Regions from separate parts of the Homo sapiens genome. Here region 1 is linked to region 2. Evidence: promoter capture Hi-C in 16 types of primary human blood cells and fetal thymus (Javierre and others, 2016). All regions are on one chromosome and are shown on one strand. The core of a region is centred on a gene start or on the middle of the fragment in contact, and the rest is flanking DNA. Distances in the headings are between cores, read along the strand shown.

Region 1 (7,333 bases), core at 1,699-4,198, 110 kb before region 2:
AGTAATTACTGGACAAGTTTTGCCATCCAGTTTGTATAAGGTATTCTTTATATATACCAAACAATCAGTTAGGGGGACCTTTACTATGATGACTACCTCACATTTAATTTTTGGAACAATATTTTAATAGAAAATCTTTCAGCTAAAATATTTCTCCTGTCACATGTACAAATATTTATACCACCAATATGGTGACTTTGATAAGACTTGGGTCATAGTGCTGAAGGTCAAAAGGGAGAGTTAGAGATGCAGATAATTTATTGGATCTTGACTTAATGGAAAATAAAGATGTGACTTGAGCTGGCTTGTGTCCATGCCAGTATATGTTAGATATGTTAGTACATACGATGCTTCTATTATTACGTTTTTAGTCTTTCTTAAATTCACTTTTAGAAGTTAATAAAGTTAGTGTTTCTAGTACAGTAGCAGGCACTTCAGCTGATCAGTCAGTACTTTTTCTATTGATAATAAATATGAATTACATTTATGGGTTTGTGTATTATTCAGGAAAAATTAATGTTAATACCATCATTTTTATACTAAGCTTCCTGTCTAACAAGGTGACTCAAAGTATAAAATCCTGGGCTCTAATCCGAGTCACTTAGTGTCTCTGAGATTCAGATTCCTTGCTTTTAAAGAGAGGATGGTGTTCCCATAGGTAGTGGCTGTGAATATTAAACAAGATAGCAGGTAGGAGTCCACAGAATAGCACTCAGCACACTTAGATGTTTAACAATATTTTATTCATTTTTCTTCTCTTCCTATTTTATTATCTTTCTCCTTTTATCCTTATGAAACACTCACTAAATTTGAGTAATATCTAAGTCATAGAAATACCTACTAAATATTGGAATTTATATATTGTATGTAGTCTATAGAAGGACTATTTTGTCATAATTACTTTATGCATGAACATTTTTTATTTCATATATAATACTTAAATGTGAGAACTTCTTAAATTTTCATTTCATACTGTATGTGAGTGGCCTGAGCTGGGCCCATCATATTCTCTGCTTGGGTCCAGAAGATGTCTGGGATTACATTGTCCCATGGCAGTGACCTAGGGACTAGTGTCATCAGGTCATGCTGCTGAGGTCCCAAGAGCCATTCTGACTGTCCTTCTCACAACTGGGTTAGTCAGTGTGTTGGGGGCTCCCAAGAACACTTTCAGGCTTGATGATTCACTAGGACTCAGAACTCAGAAGTGCTGCTGAACTCATGGTTACAGCTTATGACAGCAAAAAGATACAGATTATAATCAGCAAAGCAAAAAGACACATGTAGTGAAGTCCAGGAGAAACTATGCACAGTCTTTCAGAGGTGAATGACCTCTCCCTTCCCAGTGGAGTCACATGAGGATGTACTTATATTTCCTAGCAATGACATGTGACAACCCATGTGAAGTGTTCCCAACCAGGGAAGTTCCCCCAGGTCTTAGTGTCCAGGGTTTTACTGGGGGGTCTATGACATAGACAAGCAATATCCATGTGACTGACCTCAGCTACTCAGCTCCAGCTCTCTCCCACACCCTCAACCCCAGCAAAAAAAAAGTTAACCCAAATCACATTATTAGCATAAAAAGATCTATCAAGGTGGTACAGTATTGCCAAGGCCCCAGGACAAACAAAAACTGATGTTCACTATAAATATAGTGTGGCTCAAGGTCTCAGGCATAGAAAACCACACTACTGGGGCAGAATATTCCAAGGGCTCAGATTATCTCCCAGAAGCCAGCCAAGGTCTATTCTTAAAGACAGGCCCGTCTTTGGAACACAGCATCTGAGCACCGCAGGCCTGCTGAGTTAAGTCTGTCTTGCCCAGTTGGCTTTTCCTTCTCATACTTTGAGACAACTAGTAGCCTTTCAATAGCTCTTTCTTCTTGGTTAAATCATCTAAAATTAATTTTATTTACTTGCAACAAAATGAGGCACAACTGACGTGTCTAATTTCTTAGTGTGTAAACACTATTCTGAGTGTAACAATTTAAATATCAGTGTCTCCCCACTCCCACTCACATAAGTGACCAAAAGTAAATTTGTTCTGTAAAACAGAAGTGCATATCTTCAGAAGAACCTAATTGTATGGTTTTTTTTTTTTTTTTTTTACTAAAACAGTCCCCCTTTATGTGCAGTTTCAATTACCTAGGGTCAACTGTAGTCTGAAAATGTTAAACAAAAAATTCCAGAAAGAAACAATTCATAAGTTTTAAATTGCACACTGTTCTGCATAGTGTGATGAAATTTTTTTTTTTTTTTTGAGACGGAGTCTTGCTCTGTGGCCCAGTCTGTAGTGCGGTGGCACAATCTCGGCTCACTGCAACCTCTGCCTCCCGGGTTCATGCCATTGTCCTGCCTCAGCCTCCCAAGTAGCTGGGACTACAGGCGCCCACCACCACACCCAGCTAATTTTTTTTGTATTTTTAGTAGACACGGGGTTTCACCGTGTTAGCCAGGATGGTCTCGATCTCCTGACCTCATGATCTGCCCGCCTCAGCCTCCCAAAGTGCTGGGATTACAGGCGTGAGCCACCACATCCCGCCGTGTGATGAAATCTTAAGCTGTCCCTGCCTGGGACATGAATCATCCCTTTGCCCAGGGTATTCATGCTGTCTACTCAACCTGACCCACCTGCTTGTCACTTCATAGTTGTCTAGGTTATCAGATCAACTGCCTCGGTATCACAGTGCCTGTGTTCAAGTCATCCTTATTTTACTTAATAATGACCACAAAGTGCAAGTGTACTGATGCTGTCAATTTGGATATGCCAACAAGATGCTGTAAAGTGTTTCCTTTACGTGAAAAGATGAAAGTTCTCAATAAGAAAATGAAAAAAAAAATTTGAGATTGCTAAGATCCATGGTAAGAATAAATCTTTTATTTGTGAAACTGTGAAAAAGGAAAATTGGCTGTCACACCTCAACAAAAGTTACGGCCAGAGTAAATGATAAGTGCTGAGTTAAGATGGAAAAGGTGTTACATTGGTGGGTAGAGGACATGAACAGAAATGTGTTCTAGTGGATAGTGATCAGGTTCAGTACTGTCTGTGGCTTCAGGCATCTACTGGGGACTGAGACATGTCCCTTTTGAATGTAGTTTAACTTTTTAATTTTTAAATGTGCTAAAATACACATAATATAAAATGTGCCATGTTAATCTTCTTAAGCATACAGTTCAGTAGTGTTAAATATTTCCACATTATTGTGCAACTGATCTCCACCATTTTCATTTTGTGAAATTGAAACTCTGTACCCATTAAACAACAACTAGCCATTCCCTCTGCCCTTCAGCCTCTACCATTCTACCATTCTATTTTCTTTTGAATGATTTTGACTACTCTGGATACCTCTTATAAGTAGAATCACACAGTATCTGTCATTTTGTGACTGGCTTATTTCACTTATTATAACGTCCTCAAGGTTCATCCATGTTGTAGCAGGTGCCAGAATTCCATCCTTTTTAAAGGCTGAATCGTATTCCATTGTATGGATATACCACATATTTTGCATCCATTCATCCATCAATGGGCATCTGCATTGTTTCCATTTTCTGGCTATTGTGATTAATGCTACTATGAGCGTGAGTGTATTAATATCTCCTGAAGACCCTGCTTTCAATTTTTGTAGATATATACCCAGAAGTGGAATTGCTGAACTACATGTTAATTCTATTTTTATCTTATTTTTTGAAAAACTGACATATTGTTTTACATAGTGGCTGCTTTGTGGAAGAATAGAAACCTACTTTGAAACATTACTAGCATATCATCACTGTATGAGGTACAAATTTCTACAAATCTTCTACAATCTTAGAATCCGTATTGACCAATATCATGCAGCTATAAAGTAGATTTTCAGTATTAATAATTTAGTATTTAACAAAGAAAATGATAAAATCACCTGTCTCACACCAGGACCATCTAGGACCTCATTTGCCATCATCCATAATCACTTTTAGTCTTCTAGTAAATGGTTTTTACTTTTGAGAAAAGAGCTCTCAAAACATTTTATCATCAAAAAAAGCTACAATATTTTACTTTAAACTACTAAACACATATCCTATGGCTTAATATTTGTGATTGCTAGGTACCTAGTGATACCAATAAAACTGAACCAGAAAATGCTTAGAAGAATAGCGCATGCCACAGTTAAGTATTTACTTCAGTTGAGGCACACACACTATTGAGCACAGTCAGGGTTGCTGAACAGGATGAAGAGTCATGACCTGAGATAGTCACAACATTTTCTTCTGCAGAGCATGTAGGGAGGTCTCAAGGCAAGGGTTGACTCTCCATGTGCATTCTGTGCACCCTTGAAACCTCTGTGCACAGAACGACCCATAACTTGTAGAACCAGATAAACCACTACTTCTGGTTTATATAAGTTTCAGGTAGGAATTATTTCACAAGCTAAGAGATTGTATATGTAGAAAAATTCCCATCCCAGGACCAGTCTGGAGTTTTGCATGCTCTGATGATTATCTTCTGGGTGGGAACAGCAAGTTAAACAACAGTAATATAGAGAAGTGGGAAGGAAGAGAGGTTAACCAGCAGATATGGAGCAAGTGACCTCCCCAAAGGTTGGCAAAGAACCCTCCACAGTATATGTATCAAAATGCCAAAGTATCCTTGGACCAGATCAAGTAAATCATGATTATAACCACTGACAGTAGTCAAATAAAATTAATGTCCAACAGGTTTTGTCATTTTATTCAGCAAATCTAATTGAATGTTTCCAATATCTTCAGAAACAAAGTGTAGTAATTTAAAAACTGTATGTGTAATCTGCTTCTCTTTCACTGCCTTTGTAACAGCACTGTTGTGATCATTTTCCACTTCTGCTTGGCAAAGGTGGGAAGGTCCTTCCCATTCTTTTTTGTTTCCTGTGACAGATAGCATAATCCTTTCCACTTCCTCGATTATTTAATTCAATTCCGAATAAATATTCCAAAGGCAATAATTGCCCTCCAGCTCAGCTTTAAATCTGCTTGGAAAACTCAGCTCTCAACAATTTTCAGATGTAATAAAGTTTGTTTTACTATATAGTATAAAAGCATTATTGTACCAAGTTATTTATTTGGTACAAGTTGGGGTTACCCTTGACTCCTCTCTTTTGCTCACACTCAATATCTGATTCATCAACAAATCTTGTTGGCTTCATTTTCAAAAGTCTTCCAGTATCCAACCACCTCTCATCACCTCTACTGCTACTATCTTGGTCCAAGTCACCAGTACCTTGGCCAGATGGCTTCAATAACCTCTAACTTATCTCCCTCCTTCTGCCCTTGCTTCTCTTCAGTCTACGTTCAGCAGAAGAGCTTCTTGATCTTCTTTACTGTCCATCTCCCCCATTAGGATATAAGCTTCATAATGAGATGGTTATTTTTTTTTCTGTTTTGGTCACTGCTACATTTTCAGCACCTAGAATATTCTCTAGCTTATTAAACAGCATTTTAAAATATTTGTTGAATAAATGTATGATAAATAAAATATATTTCTGGTTGGGCACGGTGGCTTACAGCTGTAATCCCAGCATTTTGGGAGGCTGAGGTTGGTGAATTATTTGAGGTCAGGAGTTCAGGACCAGCCTGGCCAACATGGTAAAACCTCGTCTCTACTTAAAATACAAAAACTAGCTGGGCATGGCGGTGGGCTCCTGTAATCCCAGCTACTCAGGAGGCTAAGGCAGGAAAATCACTTGAACTCGGGAGGAGGAGGTTGCAGTGATCCAAGCCATGCCACTGCACTCCAGCCTGGGCAACAGAGCAAGACTCTGTCTCAAAAAAATAAATAAATGAATGAATGAATGAATGAATGAATGAATGAATAAATAAATAAATAAAATAATATATTTCTAAAGAAGGAACTTTGACAAATATTAATATTAGCAAAATGTTTATTAGTCTGCATAAACTTTGTGAGATCTAGATCTTTGTTATCCATAAACTAATATATTCTATAAATAAATTAACAAATGCTATTCATTTTGAAATGGGAATTTTCCTTTATAACATTTTAATTACATATTTGGAAATAACTAATTTATTAGAATGTTTAGGGTTGACAAATTAAATTATTTTTTCCCTGGCTTTATTAAGATATAATTGACAAATAAAAATTGTATATATTTGTTATATAAGATGATATCTTGGTATGTGCATACATTGTGAAATGATTAAATCAAGCTAATTAACATATCCATCATCTCACCTACTTATTGTAGCTTGAGAAAAACAACTAAAAAATTATTTGGGGGGGTGAATTATTGCATTTACCTTTTCCTCTTTGCCTCTTTATCTTCCTGTCTGAGCTCATTAATAGTCTCACCAAAATGTGTACAAGGAAACAGATGGGAGTAAAATTCTATTCGGAACATGTTTCCATGTTATCTTTCAGCACTGCTGGTGGAAAGACAACTAAAGAAGATGAAAGCCACCACTAAAGTGATATTTTATGACTATAAAGATGTCATTTAAATTCATGATTAGCATGGATTTGTTTTTAGAAAAAACATGGAAAATCCAAAATGTTCCTTTTAAAAGACTGTATGCATCTAACTTGGTATTAAAACAAAATGTGCTCTTAATGGAATCTGTTATAGGTTGAATTGTGCCTACTCACCAGAGATATGCTGAAATCTTAACCCCCCAAAATGCTGCAGAATGCAGCCTTATTTGGAAATAGAGTCTTTAGAGAGGTAATCAAGTTAAAATGAGGTCATTAGCATGGGTCCTAATCCAATATGACTAGTGCCCTCACACAGTGGTGAAATTTGGACACAGACATGCACAGAGGCAGAGACTGAAATAATGCAGCTACCCAGAGACTTAGAAGGAGCCTGGCCTTCGAGTCTCCAGAACTCTGAGATAACAAATTTCTCATTTTAAGCCACCCAGTATGTGGTACTTTGTTACGGCAATCCCAGCAATTAATAGGGAACCTAAATAATGTTTTATAAATTTTTTTTCTGCAGTTTTTCTGAAAAGTGAGAAGATGCTCATATCATGCCTGAGTTCATCCCAAACACAGTATTTAAAATGTTCAGTGCCTTTTGTTGATGGCTCCATAAATTTTAGGCTGACAGAAGGATAAAGGACTGCTCATTCTATATTGAAAAGAAGCTCCATTTATAGAAACACTAAAACATGGCTATTTGAGACCTATTTTTCCTCAAAGGGCTTAGTGACAAGCAATCTATTTATCTCACAGTCAAATATCATAAGATTGAATCAAGGGTGTTTAAATAAAGATACAATATTCCATTCTATTTGATAAAATGAGAGAAAATATGAAACTGCAAGCATTTGATAATAGAAAATAATCAATATAAATATTAAGA
Region 2 (6,857 bases), core at 2,090-4,589:
TAGCACAACTCAATTTTTTCTGTCTCTTGGCAGAATGGACATTGGCTCTTAAAGCAGTTTCTTGTTTGTGTGACTAAAAAGGAATACACTAAGAAAAGCACTGAAGAAATACTACTGAGCCACAAGAATATATATAAGCAATGCAACTGAATTTCTAGGTATTAGGAAACTACTGCAGAAAATTTCAAACCCTGCAATGACCAGAGACAACGTGGCTCATTTCTAACCAAAAAGAAAATGAACTGAGAACATAAACACATAAACAGATTCACAACAGCAGGAAGTACAGATATTAATTAAATGTCTAAACATGTATAAGAATAGCACTAATATTGAAACCCACTATTGAATAAAATTTTTAGTCATGAATAAATTTCAGTTTCCCTTCTATTCAAGTCTTTTGCTGAAGAGAGTTCACATACTGTTTAATTTTAAATTTAATTATTTTTTTCTCTATTCACCCATTAATAATGGTACTAATTAATGAATACTAAGATGGCTAAAAGAGAAGAACAGGGATATCTTTGAATTAATGTAAGTATATTACTAATAAATGTGTGCAGGTTATCAGGGAACAATGCTGTTTCTTATTCACTAGTATGAATTATACAGAGTAACAATAAGAAATGATCTTTTCCATAGAAGAACATGAACAAGTAAGCAAAAGACAAAGTGTATAGCAGAAATCAGCATGAAAGATGTTCAGTGTCATAATTAAATTTTGTTTATTGTAAGCCTAAAGTATAAATTACAACCAAAGACATCTGCAACCTTCTTTTTTTCCCTTGCTACAGTATATTGCACACCTTGCCAAACATTAGTTCTCGTTAGATTAGACCACAAAGAAGTACACATTTAAGAGGAGACACACAGAGGACCTCGCAGAGGCGTTTGGGCCCTGCATGCCTGTCACATTCAGACCACAGGGTGTGGCTGCAGTAGCTAGAGCTGGAGTTGTGAAAATGCCACCAACCTTGCCCAGTTATGGGCTTCCTACATCCTGTGACAGTCACACCTCCTTTCATTTCCAAGATGCTGTGTGTGCAGCATAGTTATCAGAAAGTAGGCCCAGTGCAGCACCAAACAATTCTTGAACATTTTTAAATGGCAAACTAGCTTTTTCCAATCTCCTCTCCCTGGCAGGAAGGACTCAAGTAAAAAAGAGTTCTTAAATGAGGTCAATGAGGACAGAAGAAAACCAGTTTGTGAAAATCATTAGTTCAGAAAGATGAAAGTGAGACTATAAAATAAGAGCTAGGCAAATATTTCCAAAGCCTAGCAAATATTGTTATCTGGGTCAGTCTGAAGCTGTTTCTTAATCTTCAGCATGAAACATATTAAGTTAGTATAGATCTCTCACATTTTGTTCTAAATCTGCCACAAAGTAATGAACAGAAAAGAAAAAATAGATATGTATTTTGTCACACTGTTCCGGTGATATCAGGAACTTTTTAGCCATACTACAAATCTTTTTTCACCATGGGGAATAAAAAGCCTCTCAAAGAACAATCGTCATGACTCGTGATTAAATTCGCATTTTATGAAGATGTAGGTCATATTAATGACCTTTGCCTCATTGAAAATTATTATACTTTCTCTTGCATAGGTCTGGCTTCTGTATACGAATGTTGTCTTTAGGAAAGTCATTCTCAGATGAAGACAAAAAATGGATGGGCATTAAAGAAGAGAAAAATAATTCATTTTTAACTTTCTTAACATTCACAGGAACATTTCAGATACAAGTTTTCCACCCCAAAACGAAAAGCTCAGAAATGAACATTGTGGGATGCTAAGGCTTCATTGCTGATATTTCCCTCTGGGCTGGACCTGACTCTATTTACGGAAGGGGGCAGAACTTCCAGCATCCAAAGTCTGGGATCCCAGTCAGCACACCCAGCCTGCCTTCCCAAGGGGCTTCTTCCTGTGCGGCTGATGGCTGCTTCGTTTTGCACGGATGCCTGCCCGTTGGGATGCACCTGGCCGCCTGTGCACCACCATTTCCCAGAACTCCTCCGCCAGCAATGCAAGATCTCTCTATGTGAAACGTATCTTTATAAAGAGGAGACGAAAGTTCTCTTGCCCTCTAGTGCAGGCTCTGCCGGGAAGCAACTGCACCATGACAGCGCCGCTGGAGTCTGACGCGCCAGGGCCTCCGCGCAGCCTTCAAGCCATTTCCCTCCCCCAGCCCTTCCTAAAATAGTCAGGGGGTGGAGGAAGGGAGGCTCCTAGAATCTGTTCAACGCCCTACCTCTCCCATCTGATAGTAGCAACAGTACCGACCATCACAATAAGAGGCTGGCTGCCTTTTGCTTCTGCACCATTGGAGCCCAGGAGATGTGCCACAAGCGGAAATGACAACTCAGAGAGGGGGATATTAATAGGGACATCTACGTACGAGATGCAAAGAGGCTCCCCAACCTCCTAGTCTCCTTATCTATGAGTATCGCACACGTACACACATCACTGCCACCACCCCCTCCCATCAAGCACGCAGAGCCCCAGCGTGCAGGCACAAACTTGCTGACAATTTGTCTGCAATGTGTTCGTCTTGCACCTCTCTCTCCTCTCCCTGTCTCTGTCTCTCCCTGTCTCCCAGTCTCTGTCTTTCCTTTTACCTTCTCTCTCGGCCTCGTTCAGTTTCCCAGCAGCAAGGCGAAGCGAGCGAACGCTTCCTCCCGGCTCTCTGCGCCCAGGCTCGGCGGGACCCCGGGGATGCGCGGCTGTCCGCCCGCCCTGTCGCCGGGATCGGGCGCGGTCTGCAGGACTGCGGGAGCCCAGCCGCCCTGGTGACAGAGGACAACAATCTCAGCCCGCTGCGGCCGGCGGCCGCGGCCCGGCGCCCGCGCTCACCCTGGCTGGCTCGCCCACACTCACTCCCGCGCCGGGCTGCTCAGCCGCGCTCCCCGCCCTCCGCGACCGGTTCCTCCTCCCGGCTGCTCGCTGGGGGGTGAGGCCTCCCCCTTCGCCCTCCCCCACGCATCTACTGCTCCTGTCGGGAAGGAAGGTCGCCCAGGCCGGTTCAGCCTCTGGGCAGGGTCCCTGCACCGCCCTGGCCCGCCACACCCCCTCCCCGGCTCCGTGCCCCGCGCCCCGCGCCCGGCTCCGGGATGCGCCGGTGCCTGGAAGAGCTGGGGGCGGGGACCCGGAGGCTCGCAGGCTTCCCTACCTCCTGGAGATGCACGGCCTTGGGCGTTTCTCCGCAGCTGCAAAGCTGTGCTGTGACCCACCCGCTCAGCGAGCCTTTATACCGGGACCACCTCCCGGGGGTCGAGGTGGGAAGGAAATGTCCCTGAGAGCCGGGACGCGCTGCCTCCGCTGCCTGGAGGAGCTGCGCTGTCCTGCCAGCTAACTTTTGCCCACGGTTTCCACTGCCCGGGTGACCTTTCTGAGCGGAACCTATCCTGAAAGGCTGGGAGGTTCCCTGATGGTCCCAGGAAGGGCGTGATGCAGAGCAAAGAGCAAAACCCGCTGGCTCCTTTTTCATCAACTTCCGAAAGATCCTAAATCGTTTTGGCTGCCAAGTCAGTAGCAAATAACTTAATTTGAGGGAGACTGGTCAGGCTTTATAGATCTTTTTTAATGTTATGTATAAAGTTTAGACTTCTTGAGAAAGCGCTTGACATCTTTAATTCTTGACTGTTTATTATGATGATTCTAAAAACCACTTTTAGGTTCTTCAGGTGCACTGTATGCACCCTGTACATTGCGGAGCCATTTGTATCTTTGGCCACAAGTCCTTCTCGTGGTGTAAGAGATCTTGGTGTTGCCTGGTAGCATTCAGGAGAATTTATTTTGTTGTGGTTTTATGGTATCCAGGCAAAGTCAAACACAGTCTCTCTTCACCAACAGTGAAGTCCAAGTCCAACAGGATGATTGCAGCTAAAATAATCGAAGCCATGTTGCAATAATCTTAAAAGTAATAATCCCCCCCTTGAATCTCCAATCTGAACAAAACAGTCATTTATCCTCTAAATTTGCTGAAAGGAAGGAGCAGTTTATAAAGTAGATGAAGTTTCTCTTTGCTGCCTGCCTTTCCCTTACCTGCTGCCAACATTCCCACTGCCTAGCTTTCCATTTTCTTCAAATTCTCCTTCTTCTGGATCGTGTCAAAATAATAACATCTGAAACAAATCTGGTAAACCAATCTGATGTGTTCCTCTTCTTTGTGCTGACTTTTGTTTTTTTTTAGAGAGAGAAACCAAACAATGGATCTCTATTTGCAGAACTTGCTACCTCCAAAAGTTGGGCCTGGAGGAGGAGTGTTTGGGATCACTCTCAATGTATGCCCTGCCTCTGCCTGAGGGCAACAATCCTGGGGCACCCCCAGAGCCCCTTGTGGAGACAACCACCAGAGCATAATTATTCCAGGTCAGCCCTCTGTGCCCAGTGGCCACAAAATGGGGTCCAGATTTCCAGGCTTGCCACTCAGAAGAAACAGATCAGAATGGCTCAGCTCACCCTCTCAATCCCTACCTTCATAGAATCAATCCACCCTGCCGGCTTTTGAAGATGGGTAGAAAGTTATTGTGCCAACTTTGCCATTCTTTTTGTTTGTTTGTTTGTTTGAGATGGAGTTTCGCTCTTGTTCCCCAGGCTGGGGTGCAATGGTGCAATCTCGGCTCACTGCAACCTCCGCCTCCCAGGTTCAAGCAATTATCCTGCCTCAGCCTCCTGAGTAGCTGAGATTACAGGGATGCGTCACCACACCTGGCTAATTTTGTATTTTTAGTAGAGACAGGGTTCCTTCATGTTGGTCAGGCTGGTCTCAAACTTCCGACCTCAGGTGACCCATCCAGCTCGGCCTCCCAAAGTGCTGGGATTACAGGTGTGAGCCACTGCACCTGGCCACCAACTTGCTATTCTACACGTTAAGCAACTACTTTCTTGGGTTTACTTACTTGAGAAGTGAGCCACTTAAAACACAAGCCTGAAACATTGCTTCCACCAACTAAAACTCCTCTACTAGGCCTAATCTCTGTTCTCACAGGCTGAGACAGACAGAAGCATAGAGCTGTCTTGCTGGCATTGATTCCCTATACAGCTGAAATCCCATTCTCAGCTAAACTTTATCCTCTGTAGAAGGACTAAGCACATTTTAGAGTTTTGCAAAGGGCTTGTCAGTTTCACACACCCCAGGGAAGGGTGTTGTAGCTCCATTTACTCAACAGCTATTGCTTGAACACTTACCACATAACAAATATTGTCCTAAGTGCTGGGGCTACCGTGGTAAGCAAACTCTGACCGGGCTCTTGCCTTCATGGAGCTTACAGTATGATGGGGGAAGAGCCAGACATTCATCAGAGAACCACACAAATACTTATAAAACCCCATTCTCCAAGCAAAGGCAAATGTTGCTATGAGAGCTTTCAAGAACGGGAGTTGGCCAGGCATGGTGGCTCACACCTGTAATCCCAGCATTTTGGGAGGCCAAGGCAGACAGATCACTTGAGGACAGGAGTTCGAGACCAGCCTGGCCAACATGGTGAAACCCCATCTCTACTAAAAATACAAAAATTGGCCAGGCACGGTGGCTCATGCATGTAATCCCAGCACTTTGGAAGGCCGAGGCAGGCAGATCACAAGGTCAAGAGATCAAGACCAGCTTCACCAACATGGTGAAACCCCATCTCTACTAAAAATATAAAAAATTAGTTGGGCATGGTGGCGCATGCCTGTAGGCCCAGCTACTCAGGAGGCTGAGGCAGGAGAAACACTTGAAGCTGGGAGGCGGAGGTTGCAGTGAGCCAAGATTGCACCACTGCACTCCAGCCTGGCGACAGAGTGAGACTCTGTCAAAAAAAAAAAAAAATAGCCAGCGTGGTTGTAGGCGCCTATAATCTGAGCTACTCGGGAGGCTGAGGCAGGATAATTGCTTGAACCTGGAAAGCGAAGGTTGCAGTGAGCTGAGATCGTGCCACTGCACTCCAGCCTGGGTGACAGAGCAAGACTCAGAAAAAAAAAAAAGGAGGGGAATTAATTTATTTCAGGGATTAGAAAGGCTTTGCTAAGGGAGTGACATCTGAACAGTGAGGTGCAGGAACTAGGTGAACGTGAGCAGGTGGGAAATTGGGAGAGCGCTCCAGACAGAAGGAACAGCATATGCAGAGGCTCTATGGAAGAAAAGCACATGGTGCATTGCAGGAACTGAGGAAGACTGATGAGGTTGCAGAAGAAAAAGCAAGGGAGGGGCCAGGAGGTTTAGGGAATGGTGGGCCCAGTACAGCTGGAAACAGAGCCAAGGGCAGACTATGCCAGTCTTAAAAACTGAACCAAAGGGATGGCCCTTTACAAGAAGCCATTAAAGTGTTCTCAGTGCAACATGATTAGATTTATGTTTTAAAATGTTCTCTTTGGCTAAAATGTGAAAAAACAGATTAGAAGTGGAGCCAGAATCAATAAACATGGACCAGTTAGGAAGGTGGTGCTGTAATCCTTTAGAAAAGACTGTGGTATTTATTATTAGAGTGATGGTGGTGGGAAAATGTAGACAGATTTGAGAGATATTTAATAGATAAAACTTACAGGGCATAAGGCCATGTTGTGCTATAGACTGAATAGGTATGTTCCCCCACCCCCAAACTCATATGTTGAAACCTATCCCCAGTGTCATGGTATTAGGAGGTGTGGCCTTTGGGGGTGATTAGGTCATAAGGGTAGAACCCTCATGCATAGAATTAGTGTGCTAATAAAAGGAACTTGGAGAAGTCCTTGCCCCTTCCACCATGTGAGAACACATCAAGAAGACAGCCATCTATCAACCAGGAAGTGGGTTCTCACCAGACACTGAATTTGAAGGTGCCTTGATCCTGGACTTCCAGCCTCCAGAACTGTGAGTAGTAAGTGTCTGTTGTTTGTGA

The links. The method cuts DNA at HindIII sites, captures the fragments that hold promoters and counts their contacts. A CHiCAGO score of 5 or more calls a contact.
Region 1: a contact is called between a fragment that was not itself captured here and the fragment with the promoter of SYNE1 in region 2, in 1 of 17 cell types (neutrophils). The highest score is 5.4, in neutrophils.

Annotation. Positions count from the first base shown.
Region 1 is chr6:152,528,384-152,535,716 of GRCh38, forward strand. All of the region lies in intron 4 of SYNE1 (spectrin repeat containing nuclear envelope protein 1), which reads right to left. Among named protein-coding and RNA genes, the nearest start is that of SYNE1, 110 kb to the right of the region's middle. The HindIII fragment of the contact is 4,813 bases long and covers 543-5,355 here.
Region 2 is chr6:152,634,023-152,640,879 of GRCh38, forward strand. It overlaps SYNE1 (spectrin repeat containing nuclear envelope protein 1), which reads right to left and starts at 3,340. Exons shown (of 146, transcript NM_182961.4): 1 at 3,167-3,340; 2 at 2,616-2,783. RefSeq lists an enhancer at 838-967. The HindIII fragment of the contact is 16,108 bases long and covers 1-6,857 here.